3 separate regions of the Homo sapiens genome follow, and all the other regions are linked to region 2. The links are contacts of gene promoters, found by promoter capture Hi-C in human tissues and cell types (Jung and others, 2019). All regions are on one chromosome and are shown on one strand. Each heading gives the region's core, a stretch centred on a gene start or on the middle of the fragment in contact. The rest is flanking DNA. Distances are from core to core; before and after follow the strand shown. Region 1 overlaps ENAH (ENAH actin regulator). Region 2 holds the start of EPHX1 (epoxide hydrolase 1). Region 3 overlaps LBR (lamin B receptor).

Evidence for each region. Contacts are between HindIII fragments. The study calls those that stand out against the background at their distance.
Region 1: a contact is called between a fragment that was not itself captured here and the fragment with the promoter of EPHX1 in region 2, in 1 of the 25 tissues and cell types used here (mesenchymal stem cells).
Region 3: a fragment that was not itself captured here is called in contact with the fragment with the promoter of EPHX1 in region 2 in 2 of the 25 tissues and cell types used here (pancreas and psoas muscle).

Annotation. Positions count from the first base shown.
Region 1 is chr1:225,531,063-225,534,012 of GRCh38, reverse strand. The region is part of intron 3 of ENAH (ENAH actin regulator); the gene reads left to right. Among named protein-coding and RNA genes, the nearest start is that of LINC02765, 65 kb to the right of the region's middle. The HindIII fragment of the contact is 3,365 bases long and covers 1-2,950 here.
Region 2 is chr1:225,808,790-225,811,850 of GRCh38, reverse strand. It overlaps EPHX1 (epoxide hydrolase 1), which reads right to left and starts at 1,727. Exons shown (of 9, transcript NM_001136018.4): 1 at 1,682-1,727. RefSeq lists a silencer at 1,550-1,769. The HindIII fragment of the contact is 8,152 bases long and covers 1-3,061 here.
Region 3 is chr1:225,420,025-225,422,966 of GRCh38, reverse strand. LBR (lamin B receptor) reads left to right here. Exons shown (of 14, transcript NM_002296.4): 3 at 690-890. Among named protein-coding and RNA genes, the nearest start is that of LBR, 6.5 kb to the left of the region's middle. The HindIII fragment of the contact is 4,842 bases long and covers 1-2,942 here.

The sequences.
Region 1 (2,950 bases), core at 220-2,719, 280 kb after region 2:
TCTTTAAAGTTGTAAAATAATGTGTTAAAAAGTAGATTTCCCCCCATTATTACCTTTAATTTAACTGTGTGCAAACAATATAATTAACACGTTGCTAAGTTTAAACTTGATTGTATTGTGTATATAATAACACCGATTTGTCTTTTAGTCCTGTGTTTTTAAATAGTCTGTGGCTAATTGTGAAAATAGATTTGTGAAAATTAAAATGTGACAGTAAGTGGAATGTGCTTTAACCAAAACTCAATATTGAAGGCAAGACTGACATACAGTTCCTATTATAGAGTCTCCTGATCTGATTTTAATCATTTATAGGGTACTGTATCAGTGACATTGCCACATTTCTCTGTTACAAACAGTAACTCACAGACTTTGCTATATACCTTCTTCTTGTAGCCAGGACAAATTAAGATCAGCCACTATCTTTGGCTGTGAGGGAGAGAACAAACTCTCAAACAGCTGCTATTCTTTATGATAACATAGAAAGAGCAAAGCAGGTTCACTAGTTTCTTAACCTTGGTTGTTCTTCCCTCTTTTTCCCCTCCCCAAAGGGCTGTTAACCACCACATGATGCTCATAAAATATTGTCATTTTCCCACTGAAATGGTTATGAAAGTACCTATTTTGCATTTTATGAGAACACACTCATTTAGGAATGTGACCTGTGTAAAGTAATGTTTATATTCCTGAACATACAGCGGCAGCTGACAGACTTTGCCTGATCCTAGTTGCTGCTTCATGTCATGTGGGGTGCCTTTGGTATTACTTACCAATTTTATAGCCCATTAGAATGTTTGACAAGAAGGAAAAATGTAATTGTGTACCTTAAATTTATATTTACCTGGAACTTTTAATGTTTATAGTATGTTTGTATTAATTTTTAAATGCACATAAATTTCAATGTGCTAGTTACTGCAACCTGACAATTTGAAGAAGAAACAAACAGAACAACCAGATTAAATGTAGATGTGAAAAAGTGCCAAAGGGAGTGATTCCATGCACGGACACACACACACACCCAATTTAAAGGATGTCTGGAAAGACAAAAAGCCCAAAAATCCATTATCATCACAAAGAACCATGTAGAAAAGAATTGTTAAGAGTTGTTCTAGGATCAAAATTCTCCCCATTTTAAAAGGAACTTCCTTGAAGCTTTTCATCTCAGCTGCAGGAATAAACTGTAGTAAATTTTTTTTATAATTATGATAACAGCCACAAAATATTACCCACATTTTAAAAATCTCCTTTCTGAACAGATTTGCTTAGTAAGCTTTTAAAAAGCTTTAAAAAAATATTCCAAAGCAGGTTCTGTAAATTGCTAAAAGATTTTCTTTTCTCAGCTTTTGTGAGTTACATTAAACTTGTGTTAGTTTTTTAAAAACCTGTTAAATAAAATAAATAGGATTGAGTTGAAATTTTGACGTCTTTTTTGAATCTATATATTTGAATTAAAACTGAGATTTTAATTGGCAAATTTAATCCATTAATATTACCTTTGATATATAACACCTGTCCTAGGTGTGTGACTGGTATAATTGCATTCTTCTTTGAGGTAGATGCCAAACAGGTCTAACCTACTCACATTCAGCTGTTTCATTATTTAAGCAGCCTGAGGCTTTCAACTTAAATACTCAAGTAAACATTATTTTAAAAAATAGTTAAAACATAATGGTCTTGTGAGTTGCCCATGCTAAATGCTCACATTTAGTACTTTGGATATATAAAGTACATTCCCTAAATAATTTCATGCTACCTCAGATTTACCCGCCCCTCCCCACACTTGTGTGTCCCCAGAAGAGAGGTCTTTTCTCTGTAAAGTATTAAACATTTGTGTATAGCCTAATAGGAGAGTCTGTTTTTACATCATTATTTTAATTTCCCAAGAAAAGAATTCTAGTCTGTTTACTAGACAGCAATCATGTATTTTCATTTATACAAACATTTACGTGTGTATTTAATTTCAAAAGTTTTGTTTTTTTTTGTTATTGATTACATGGGATTAATTTTTTTTTATAATATTTATTTGGTTCTCAAAATAGCAGACTCTTAGGAAATCTAATGAAATATATCACTGCAGTTGTCATCAATTTGTCTTTAGAGGACAAATAAAGTGATTAATCTAAAAACATTTGTAAAGAGGTGAGAAAAAAAGTTAGTAGGTAAGTTCAGATCAAATTAATTCTGTTTTTCCACACTTGGGATACACCAGTACTGCATTACATCCTAATAAATCTTTACTTCCGGTTGTGAAATCTACTCCACTAGTATAAAATACTTTGCACAATTAGCCCATAGATTACAAGAATTTAGTGCACAGAAGCATTTATTTCGTAACTTATTTTCCTAAGTTGTCTACAAATCTTTCAGAATATCTGTTAGGAGCATTTGCTGGTACACTAGAATTCACAAATATATGTAGTGTGTCATTACTCATATATTCTTCTCCAAGAGTGGAAGATAACTACTGTTTCTTTACTTTCTTGTTTACTGGATTAGACTTTAAGATTGTTCTATTTTAACCCTAGGTATTATATATTAGGTCCAGTATTTATCTCATTTTGTGACAGATTTGATTTTTATATCCAATGACATTAAGATGTCCCATAATTCAGTGGCATTCTATCTAAGATGCAAAAAACAGGTCTGCATTGTACATGATATGTGGGAATGGATGGTCATTAGTGTCTCATGACAGAACCATGTTGTATGAATGCAAGTTTTTTTTTCTTCTTACCCTAAATGAAAACTTAAAATTACCTGTTACATTAAAAATTCAGTTCAGTAGGTTAATTACTATATGGAAGTTTAGCAAATGTTTGTTTTCACCAGTGCTGGAAATGCTAGGCTATTAGACAAAAATGGCAGCTTAAATTGGGCAAATTTGATAAATGCTTTAGCATACTGGAGTCTAGTAATAAGGTTCTCATGCTCTCTCTCTCTCCTGTTTTTCATT
Region 2 (3,061 bases), core at 478-2,977:
CCTCAGTTCCACAGTGAGCAGTTCCTAAGTACCGCCCATGCCTCCTCAGCGCCTCCTAGGTGTGGAAATTTGGGAAAGAAAAACTGCTTGGAGAGCACTCGCAGAGTTTTTGCTGCTAAGTCAGACCAAGTGGGGCCAGTGAAAGGCCCCCTATTATCCCCCAAACCTAGCTCCCTGAAGGAGGCAACCGTTACACCAGAAAACAATGTTACTTTCTGGAGAAGTGTGGCTTCCTGAAAATGTTTATTTTAAATTATGCTGGATGCAGAGGAGGCTGCACAGTGGTACCGAAACAGCCACCAACCCCAAGGTCCTCAACAATTTTCCACCAACAGCTCATCAATCCCAGCAAAGGGCTGTCCTGGAAGCGGGCCTGCCAAGTGCATGGGTCCCCCTCACCTCCCACCTCCAGCCACAAGCTGAGCCCTCACAGAACTTCCAGGACAACGAGTGTTGCCTGTAGGGGCGGATCCAGGCTTTGCGGAACCTGAAGTTTAAACAATGGGAGGTGGGCTATGGAGGGGGCATTCAACTTTAAGAAAAAAAAGTCAAAATTAGGATTACAACATTGCTAGGCACCCCACCTCCAAGATCTCGGGAGCCGCCAGGGCAAGGAAGGAGCCAGAAGCTCAGAGAAAACCGACATCTGCCAGGGAGGGAGGCAGGCGGCCACTCGGTCTCCGCGGCGCTTTTGCTCAGGTTGACCACATTCCCTGGCTTCAACTACAAGGTGAACTCCCGGGCAAGTTTCCTGTTCTACAAGAGGAGAGGGCTGGCCTTCAATCCCGAGACCAGAGCGAGGGGGTGCCGGGCGGCGGCTGCGGCAGCAGATGGAGATGAAAGCGCATTTCAACTAAAAGGTGTGATCAGTGTCAGGCCTCTGAGCCGAAGCTAAGCCATCATATCCCCTGTGGCCTGCACCTACACATCCAGATGGCCGGTTCCTGCCTTAACTGATGTCATTCCACCACAAAAGTGAAAATGACCTGTTCCTGCCTTAACTGATGACATTGTCTTGTGAAATTCCTTCTCCTGGCTCATCCTGGCTCAAAAGCTCCCCTACTGAGCACCTTGTGACCCCCCCCACTCTGCCCGCCAGAGAACCCCCCTTTGACTGTAATTTTCCTTTACCTACCCAAATCCTATAAAACGGCCCCACCCCTATCTCCCTTGGCTGACTCTTTTCGGACTCAGCCCGCCTGCACCCAGGTGAAATAAACAGCCATGTTGCTCACACAAAGCCTGTTTGGTGGTCTCTTCACACGGACGCGCATGAAAATCAGTGTTCCGACTTGGGTGACAAATTAAGTGCATTTCACCGCCGAGCGAGCCACGGCCCTGGAAGCAGAGCTCGCCCAGGCCAGGGGACGCGGTGCGCTCTCGGGGTCGCGAGCCTCCCTCCCTGCGGCGTCCGCCCACAGTCTGGGACGCGGAATTCCCTGCGAGAAGTCCGCGGTCGCCTGCAGGCTCCTTCCCCCAGTAGGCGGCACGCGCAGTCTCCTGGCCGGGGCAGGAGCTGGGGGCGGACCAACTACAAGTCCCTCTGCACCCCTGCGGGCCGACCGCAGCCCCGACCCCTCGGCGCCCCGGCCCGCCGCCCACCCCGGCGGCCGAGCCCGCGCGGAGCCCGAACCGCGTCTGCGTCCGGGGAGTGCGGGCCCGGCCGGCCCCGGGCGCTTACGGTCTCGGCTCGCAGGCTCCGGCGGCGGCAGGCGCGCGATCTCTCCGGCTCCCTGGCTCTCCTCGGCTAGTTTTCAGCAGCCCCGGCGCAGTCTCCGCCCAAGCCCGGCCTCCGAGCGGGGCGTTCCCCGGCCTGGAGGACCCGGGAAAGTCTCTAGGCCTGCCTAAGGCTCCACCTCTGCCAGGGATAAAACGGGCTACTTAAAGGGCGGTCCGCGGCCCCGCGGCCAGAAATGGAGAGAAGCGTTTGGCAGCTCCTACAGCAGTTTGATCCCGTAACTTCGTCAGTTGAATCTAAAAACAAAAATCCAAACTTGCATGATGTATGTCCTTTTTTTTTTTGGAGACAGAGTCTCACTCTATCACCCAGGCTGGAGTGCAGTGGTGCGATCTCGGCTCACTGCAGCCTCAAGCGATCCTCCCACTTCGGCCTCCAGAATAGCTGGGACTACAGACTGCGCCACCACACCTGGCTAATTTTTTAAGTTTTGTAGATACGGGGGTCTCACTTTGTTGCCTAGGCTGATCTTGAACTCCTGGGCTCAAGCGATGCACCTACCTCCGCCTCCCAAAGTGGTGAGATTATGGGCGTGAGCCACTGCACCTGGCGGTGTATGTCTTTTTAATTTCATCTTTCTAGCAATTCATTCTTAGTATATTTAACAAACATATTGGTCCGTGACATGCTTGGAAATCTAAAAACAAATTAGTGTCTTTATACAGAGAATGTGAGAAGCAATGGTCTGAAGCACTCTTGGGGGTCTTCATGGTGAGGACCAGTATAGGATGCTGAGTTCAATGCCAGGGGAGCAACCTCTTAGTGAATCCCCTCCCGCTTTGGAGAGAGCTCAGGGCCCAGGCGGGTGGTTGCTGGGGCTCTTTTAGCTTCCGTGAGAGCGTTGATCCCCAGCCCCTCATCGTTAGAAAGCCTGTCCCATCGCCTCTGCCATCACCCCTCCTTAGCTTCTCTCTTCACCTGCTCAGAGGTGCAGTTCTTTCAACCACCAGCATCCTCACGATCTCGGTGGACAGACTACAGCTAGGAGGCCACATGCAGGGCCCGTGGCTGGAGTTCTAAGCTTCTGACTGTCACCTTGCACACTTCAGGATAAGGTTCACCACCACCCACCTTCCCTTGGCCTCCAACCTTTCTGCTCACCCTGGCCCAAGAATTCTGGCCGGCAGACGCACTCACCTCACTCCCACCTCCAAACTTTTGCTCTTGCAGTACTGCCGGACAGGGTGCCCTCCTCCATCCACATGTAGAGTCCTCTTGTCCTTTAATTCTACACCCTCCTATAAAAGCTTTCTCTTGCAACTGCAGTCTCTGACATCTCTGTATTCCTTTCAGAACCTGCAGTCTGGGAGAGTTCTTTCCCCT
Region 3 (2,942 bases), core at 276-2,775, 390 kb after region 2:
CAGACATGGCAGTGTTCCAGTACAACTTTATGGACAGTGAAATTTGAATTTTGGATAATTTTCACACTTCAGGAAATACTGTTCTTTTGATTTTGTTTGTAATCATTTAAGAATGTAAAAGCCATTCTTAGTAGGAAGGCCACACAAAAATTGGGGTGAGGGACTTGGCCTGGGGCGTAATTTGTCTACATCCCTAGAAGCAACATAAGGAGATTCGGAGTAGGTGGGGACACAGTGAAACAGTTCCCAGTCATCCAAGCTCATGTTTTATTTTCAAGATCTGCTTATGTGTTTTGTTCAGAGTGAAACTGTGGTACTGTTTTTTTTTTTTTGGTCTGTGTGCTTATTTATTTTGTCCTGTCGTCTCAGTTTTAATCCATGTTAATTATTACCCTTCTTGCATATGGTGTTGGAAATAAGTACAGCTAATTGGTTTAGATACATTCGTTTCATGGAAATACCTTCAAAGAACAGGAATGGAAAGGCTGCATTTGTCTCATGAAAGATGGATCATTATGAAAGCATTTTCCATTGGCTTCATCTGATCCATTCTCAGATCCTAACATTTCCCGTGCTGATTTTAGAGTTAATGGTAGCAGTTCCTGCCTTTGTTATCCTCTTCTAGTGTGGGTCTGTCTGTATGTGTTATGATTTGTGGTAAAGCTCTTTGCCTTCTTCCCCCTTTCTAGCCTTTAACTTCCTTTAGGCAAAGGAAAGGTGGCTCAACTTCCAGTTCCCCTTCCAGACGCCGAGGGAGTCGATCAAGGTCACGCTCCCGATCCCCTGGTCGACCACCTAAAAGTGCCCGCCGATCTGCTTCTGCTTCCCACCAGGCCGACATTAAGGAAGCAAGGAGGGAAGTGGAAGTTAAATTGACTCCGCTGATTCTGGTACTTGTGTTTATCCTTATACAGCCTTTTGTCTTCCGCTTTATGTATATATTTACTCAAGTTACTTGCAGTTAATAATATTAAAATGTCACTGAAACATCAAATCTAAGTTGATGACTTTGGGAGTTTTCATATAAAACAAATGTTTGGAATAGAAAGTTTTAAATATCAATGGAAAAGAATGTCCTTCAGTTACCAGAAATGCTATTTAATATTTTAGTTTTTAAAAAAGCAGCGTTCAAATTTGAAATAGATGTAGCTTGTAGATTGAACTGCGTAAGGTTTTTACAGTGTATAAAAGTTCATATCATGTATGAAATGGTAAGACAAACCTGTATTACGGAAACATTCTTACTCTTAGCATCATTATACTTTATCACTTTACCTATTCAAAGATGATTTTAGTGGAATTACTTTCAAGATGTAAGCTTTGAAATATCAGGGTGCATGGAGCCTGTAGATCTTGTACAAATAGTATTTTAGATAGTAGACCAAAGACAAAGTATGTTAAGTAAAAAGAATAAAAGTAATCTTCTATTCACTTAATGTTAACCTCTTTTCTGGATAGAAGGCACACAGACTTTGAGACAGAGTCTTGCTCTGTCACCCAGGCTGGAGCGCAGTGGCGCAATCTCAGCTCACTGCAAGCTCCGCCTCCTGGGTTCACGCCATTCTCCTGCCTCAGCCTACCGAGTAGCTGGGACTACAGGCGCCCACCACCATGCCTGGCTGATTTTTTGTATTTTTAGTAGAGACAGGGTTTCACCGTGTTAGCCAGGATGGTCTCGATTTCCTGACCTCGTGATCCACCCGCCTCGGCCTCCCAAAGTGCTGGGATTACAGGCGTGAGCCACTGCGCCCGGCAACAGACTTTTAATAAACTTTAAAAACTGGATTATATACATACTGCTCAGTAGTCAGCTTTAAGACATTTTAAAATATTGGGATAACCTTTCAGAGTGTATTTTTCTACATCATTTTTGTTGTTGTATTCTATAGTATGGATATATGGTAAATTGTATACATGTAACTTAATCGTTAAAGTCAGCTCTGTCAATGATAGACATTTAGTGTTTTTCCTTCCATATTTTCACTATTACAAACAAGTATTTTTATGTAACATCTGATTATTTCCTTAGGATGGATTCTTACAAGTGGAACTGCTAGGTCAGCTGTATGGTGCAGATTTGAGGCTTTTAATACATATTGCCAGATTGCATCAAGAAAGTTTATAGTAGTATCAGTGTATGAATGCTCAGTTTCTCATTCTGAGTATTATAATTTTTTTTTTTTTTTTTGGAGAATGTGGCTGTCAGACATTTTCAACTTACTGTTCTAACTTATATTTTGAATTAGAACATTTTAACTATTAGTGGCTCTCTTTACCACCCCGGGACTCCAGGAACAGATGCTGTGTGATACTTTGTTATCCTTTCATTTTTAATATTTAGTGACTGCTATATTTTTACAGTGTAATCTTACAGTCCTGGTGTCACAAGAACCACAGAAGCTTTGCCTCTTACCTGGTAGTGCCTTGGGCCTACTGTGTGTTGCATAAGTACCCACTATTTCTTAGTTTTCCATTATGGGCTATTTTGGAGCAGTGAATGTCTTTTTGAATGTCTTTTGTTTTTTATCCAGTTAATGAACTAATTTACCAATTTTTACTTTCTCTGCCTTTCATAGTAAATACCCCTAAAATCTATCAATGAAATTATGACATTCAGTCTGATTACGTGAAAGATCAAAGTTGTTTTTTTTTTTTTTGAGGCGGAGTTTCATTCTTGTTGCCCAGGCTGGAGTGCAATGGCGCGGTCTTGGCTCAATGCAACCTCCGTCTCCGGGTTCAAGAGATTTTCCTGCCTCAGCTTCCGAAGTAGCTGGAATTACAGGTGCCCGCTACCGTGCGTGGCTAATTTTTTTGTATTTTTAGTAGAGACAGGGTTTCACCATGTTGGCCAGGCTGGTCTTGAACTCCTGACCTCAGGTGATCCACCCGCCTTGGCCTCCCAAAGTGCTGGGATTACAGGTGTGAGCCACCGTGCCTGGCCA